Regions from separate parts of the Homo sapiens genome. Here region 2 is linked to region 1. The links are contacts of gene promoters, found by promoter capture Hi-C in human tissues and cell types (Jung and others, 2019). All regions are on one chromosome and are shown on one strand. The core of a region is centred on a gene start or on the middle of the fragment in contact, and the rest is flanking DNA. Distances in the headings are between cores, read along the strand shown. Region 1 holds the start of HTR1E (5-hydroxytryptamine receptor 1E). Region 2 overlaps HTR1E (5-hydroxytryptamine receptor 1E).

What was found. Contacts are between HindIII fragments. The study calls those that stand out against the background at their distance.
Region 2: a contact is called between a fragment that was not itself captured here and the fragment with the promoter of HTR1E in region 1, in 1 of the 25 tissues and cell types used here (H1 embryonic stem cells).

Annotation. Positions count from the first base shown.
Region 1 is chr6:86,936,128-86,939,114 of GRCh38, reverse strand. HTR1E (5-hydroxytryptamine receptor 1E) reads right to left here and starts at 1,587. Exons shown (of 2, transcript NM_000865.3): 1 at 1,292-1,587. RefSeq lists enhancers at 693-1,247, 1,248-1,803. The HindIII fragment of the contact is 9,684 bases long and covers 1-2,987 here.
Region 2 is chr6:86,988,969-86,991,924 of GRCh38, reverse strand. All of the region lies in intron 1 of HTR1E (5-hydroxytryptamine receptor 1E), which reads right to left. Among named protein-coding and RNA genes, the nearest start is that of HTR1E, 53 kb to the right of the region's middle. The HindIII fragment of the contact is 3,885 bases long and covers 1-2,956 here.

The DNA.
Region 1 (2,987 bases), core at 338-2,837:
TTCAGCAGGAAAGCAACTGTACCAGAAAGAGAAAAGCTGTCTCAATCTTCTCTGTATTTCAAAGGTATTTCACATATGCTCCTCATGAAGGAGACCGCACAGGGAATCAGACCCACGTGCCTGCTTTGCCTCTCTTGCGCAGGATTAAGTAAGGGAAGCCCCTGATTCACAAGTGCATCCTGGCTGTTTAAGGTTATGCATATTGTGTCTGAATGTACAACTATGATAAATATATATTCTGGAGCAATGTTAAATTCAGCTTAGGACGATGTACTGCTTAGAGCTTTGAGGGAAAACATAAGAATGATAAAATGAGCCTAAATTATTTTGGAAAAAACACTGCTCCCCCAACCCATTTGACGATCTATTATTTCCTCCTGGGCTGCTCCCTCCCCAAGAGATTTGGTGCAGGAGGCAAGGAAGGACAATAAGAAAGGTTAGGAAGAAACACCTTGGGATGCTGACACCATCTGCCTTATCCTTCTAACTCAAGGACAAGCAGCGTTGGGTTGAATACAAGGTCCTTTCTTCCAAAACTGGGCACAGGCAGAAATATACATATAGATGCAAAACCACTATGATCCTGTGATAGGAGCTGGAATCACTTCCCTTTAGACTCAATTTCCTTTCCTTTTCGTTAGGTAGGGGGTCAGCCTCTCACCTTGCAGTATTGGGTGGAGATGGCTTAAGACCAAACTTCTCATCTTAACTCTTACTTCCAAGATTTATTTTGTATTTTAAAAAAAATGAGCCTGCCTCATTACCTCCACACCTGGGCATTTTGTTTATCAGGACTGAGCACAGTATTATTTTCTGAGGGCTGGAGCAACAGTGCAGTCCTTTCTAATCAAAGGTTTTTTAATCAGCTGGCTTTGAAATCACACAGTTCTTCCGGGGTCCCTGGAGCACACCACCTCCCTGTGATTTCTACTCAAGTTTTCCCTGGCCCCCCCCAGCACCCGTTCCATACCTATTTAATCTTTAAGCTGCCTCTAATCCTTTTGCAAGGAAGCAGGATGAAATGCTCAAACCACAGTTATACACAATGTTGATTCTCAGGTTCACACATTTGAGGAATTGTTTGAACAAGAAATGCTCTCTGTACTATAATCCAGGGTGCAGGCACGGTGCCCGGGCGACCCTCAGTCTCCCTCCGACACCCCGCATCCCAACTCCCGCCGCCTTTGCGCCTCAAAGCTGGCAAACATCCCCAAGCCAGAGCTGGAGTACCTGGAGTGGGTGGGGGTAAGAAGGGAAGCCAAGGTCGTCCCGGAAGGTGTGCGCCCCTCACCTTGTGGACGGTGCGTGCAGCCGCGCCGCACTGGGCAAACCGGCACGTCCAGCTGGCTCCAGAAGTCTCACTCGGAACCCGCTCCTTTTTCTCCTGAGCTGGATCAGAGCACTGCTTCTCTCAACATTCGATTCTGGAGTACGTTGAGCCCAGGGCGTTCTCCCCGCCAGCGTCCTTGCCCGCGCCAGTGCCCGCCGGGGTGCGGCGAGACAGAACCTGGGAGCGCGGCGCGCCGGGCAGCCCGAGGCACCGCTGGTGGCAGGCGCTGCGCTTCGCCGAGTCTGGGCGCCTGGACTGGAAGAGGAGGCGAGAGGGAGAGAGCGGGGAAGAGGAGGAGGAGGAGCAGGAGCAGGAGCATGGGCAGGGGCAGTCTGCTAAATCATCTACGCAGGTCGCAGCCTCCCGGGACACCGTGAACGGAGAGGGGGGTGGTGGGTGTGGGATGAAAAGATGAGCCCGGGTGTGAGGCAGGTGGTATTGTGAACTGGAGGTCGCAGCTCCGAGGTACTCCAGGTCTTGCTTAGGTTATAAAAGAGAAATTCTGGAGCTGATGGCGCCTTAGGGCTCCCGGTTGCAGACACTAGAGGGCAGGGCTGTCCATGTTATAAACCGGGCCAGCGGGGTTGGAGGTGTGGGCAAGGGACTCACCTCCTGAGCCCCTTGCCGGCCACAGCCCTGGCGGAGAAGGGGAAAATAGATACAACAAGGGGGCAGACCCTACTCCCTTCTTCTGTAGCGAGCCTGGGTTGAGGAGGGAGAGGAACGGCGGGAGCAGTTGACGGGTTTGCACGCTTTCTCTACGCGGTTCCAATGGCAAACAGACCCTCTGGAGGTGCATTTCTTAGCCCTCCTCCAGGGGAGATTACAGTCAACATCCACAGGATGCCTCAAGGAGAGAGATTACAAGGAAGGGGTGAGGGAGAAGTGGACGAAAATTGGGGTGGGTCAAAGTGGAAGGGGGGAAGAGAGGTGGGGAAAGCAGTGAAGAAAAGGAGACGGAGAGTGGAGTGGTTGGGGCTGAAAGACCTGCTGAAGCAGCCTTGCCATTTTTTTTTTTTTTGAGGGAAGTCTACCTGGGCGCCATCTCAGGTTGTCAGAGGGCTTTGTGCTCTTCTGAGGGTGCCAGGGGCTGTTCTTTTTGTTGTTCTGCTGCCGCAAGGTCAGAAAAGTTAAGCTGGGAGGGACTTTGCAGAATCCTGGCATTGCTAAAAGAAGCTTCCTTACGGCTGGTTGGTTATTCTCTGTGGAGAACTTGGGTGACTCAACATTGAAGCCTAACATGGATTGAGCCCCTGCCATTGTAAAAAAGAAAATCAGATTGTTCAAACTAGCCATAAAATGAACTAGACAATCTTATGGAGACAGTATGATCTGTAGACAGCCTGATACACAAACCTTAGAGTTGAAAGGACCTTGGAAACCATGTAGGCAACTTGGGTAGCTGCCCCAAACACCTGCCTCACACTTTTCTTTCTGGTTTGTAGCCTTATGGCTGATTTGAAAAACACTTTAAGTTATTTATTTATTTTTTGAAGTTTGACAATTCTAAACCAAATGAAACCCTTCTTCAGTTCAAAAAGCGAGCCTGTGTGCCCTTCTCCTGCCTTCTAGAGCGCCTCTCAAGGCCAGCAGGGGTTGACTGATGGATTATCAGGGGAATTTCACTGAACAAGAGAAAGGAAGGTTGGTAAACTAT
Region 2 (2,956 bases), core at 95-2,594, 53 kb before region 1:
AGATGTAATATCCTGCACAATTTACAAGGAAAATTTAGAGAAATGTCTCCAATTTGAAGAGTTTGTATAAAACATATGTTTGCAACTGGAGTCTATTCTACTATTAAACATAATCATTATTGGACAGCCGCTACACATTTGTGTTTCTGTGAAATCTGGTTTACTTGTTGGTTTGAGCTTTTACCTTCCTTAACTCTTTGTTTAGAACATATTCTGCTTCTGAGACCACTACACAAATAAGACTTAGTTTGTTCTTCACTGAACAAACATCACTTTTCCTTTTATTCTACAGCTTGTTGTCACCACTCCACCCCTGGCTGCTGAAAGTATTTAGTTTTCTCAAGTCTTCTGTCTTCCTTGGATTTGGCAATGCATTCACTATAAAACTCTACCATGCTCCAGGGAAGAGCATGCAATAAGATACATTTGCACCATCTATTTTAAGAAATAAACTTTTTATTTTGGTAGAAATTTATATTTATAGAAGAGCTGTAAAGAAAGTACAGAGAGTTCATATATACCCCTCATTCAGTTTTACCCATTGTTAACTTCTTGTATTACCATGGTACATTTTTCAAAATTAAGAAAAAGACATTGGCTCGTTACTATTAACTAAACTTCAGATTTTATTTGGATTTAATAGTTTTTGCATTAATGTCTTCTTTCTGTTCCAATTCAGGACACCACATTGTATTTAATTTTTCTTATCTCCCCAGTCTCTTCTGGTCTGTGACTTTCTAATCTTTGCTTGTTTCTCATGACTGACTGTCTTAAGGAATACTGGCCAGGTATTCTGTAGAAAAAAATGTCCCCCTGATCTCAGTTTATCTGATGTTTTCCCTCATGTTTAGACTGGGGTTATAAGTTTTGGTGAAGAGTATCTCAGAAGTCAAGCCCTTCTCATTAGATCATATTAGAGAACATGATATTCACTTGACATTACTGGTGGTGTTAACTGTCATCATTTGGTTAAGGTAGCATTTGCCATGATTCTCCACTATAAAGTTACTATTTTTCCCTTTCCCTGCTCTATTTTTTAAGAAGTGAATCACTAAGTCTAGTCTACCTCCAAAACTGAGGAATTAAGCTCTGCCTTTTGGAGAGGGAGAATATGAACATACATTATATGGAATTCTGAAAGGAAGATTTATCTCTTCTCCCCTACTTTATTTGTTCAGTCATTTATTTATATTGATATTTACTGTGCATATATTTATGATTCAGTCCCAAGGGGGCAGTAGCCTTTAGTTCTGGGGAAATTATTTTATAAATACACTATTGATGCCTATTTATGTTTATTTATATAAGTATGAACTCATGGCTATTTATTTTATTCTTTGGGTTATAATCCAATACTAGGTTATTTATTTTATTGCTCAAGTTGTTCCAGTTTTGGTCACTGGGAACTCTTTCAGTTAGTTCCTGCTGAACCATTTCTTTTATTAGACTGTTTTCGTTTGTCCTGTATAGACTGGCAACAACACCTCTTTGAAAGGTGATGGGGAAAAATGATCTGTCTTGTGAAATACAGATAAGGTTTTAGTCAATACAGAGTCTCCATTGAAGGCAAATACATCATTTTTATATGAAGGACACCTGTAGGGTGTTATTTACTTTTCAGCTGAGAATAATAAAAATGAACTTTATGAAATGCCTATCATTTAAGCTAGCTGGTGCTTGAGGTTGTATTAGCATATTTTAAAAAAATGAAATGACTTTCTTTTGACCCAGCTTAATAACACCACTGAAGTAGGAAACTCCTCAGAGAAGAACTGGGCTCCCTCCTGTGCTGTGCACACATTTGCCTTTTGAATCTTTTGTAGTGCAACATGCTTTTGTGGCAGACCCAAGGGAATACACATGGAAGCTGCCTGCAGGGCTGAGGTTTCCTACTAGGCTTCCACTTAGTGCCATCTATCTAAGCTTCCACCTAGTGCATTGCTATCTCAGACCACTTGATACTGTTCCAGCCACCTCAAAGGGCATGTTCAAGAAGGAGATTTGTAGGTATCTTTTTTTTTTGGCTCAACTTACTGTAGGTTGAAAAGCAAGAGATAGTATGTTGTATAAAAATGGAGGAGTGAAGAACAGAATCCTCCTGCAAATGTGTCTTAGATACATTAATGATTGGTTGTGTGACTCTGAAAAAGACACTCCTTGCTTCAGGTCTCTGTTTCCCTATCTGTAAAATTAGCACCTCATTATTTCTGACCATCTTTTGGGGCTAACATCCTATGGTTTTTATGCTACAGTCAGTGTTATGGTAATTGTTATTACAGTTTGTAACTTCCAGAAATTAATGGCAAATAGGTTAGGAAGGAACTGGTTAGAAACTACTGCTTTTTCAACAAGGACCAATAATGTATCCTCAGGTGACAATGTTGTCTATTATTTTCCCCTGGATATTTAATTGAATTTTACAAAGTCACAGGAATCCTCCAATACCAGTTATTTGATTCCTAAGGCACTCTTTTCTTCCAACAACCACCTATGTCTGCAAAGTATAAATAGCTCATCATTTTTTTTATCATGATTTTGTGATAGCTTCTTAAGTTGGTGCAGAAAACATCTTCCAAGACCACTTCTCATCAGGGCATAAGGCACTGCACACTTTCATTCAATATGTTCAAGGTAGAATTTGGTGATTTGGGGACCGGTACTCAGGAAGACAGGCAAAAAGGAGAGCTGCTTGGGGAGAGAAGATCTGGGGCTGGCTTCAGGGAGAAGGACATCTGGGAGGCAGTGTGGTGTCGGGGTAGGGACAGTAACCTGGAGGATCCCTTAGAACAGATGGCTGCCTTGGGTAAGGGGTATGTGCATGTATTTATCATTCAGTTCCAAGAAAGAAGTAGCCTCTAGTTTGGGGGAAATTATATTTAAAAACGTGTTGTTAATGCCCAATAAAAATGTCAGTGATTCATCACACTTATATGGCACTATTATTTCCCAAATTTAC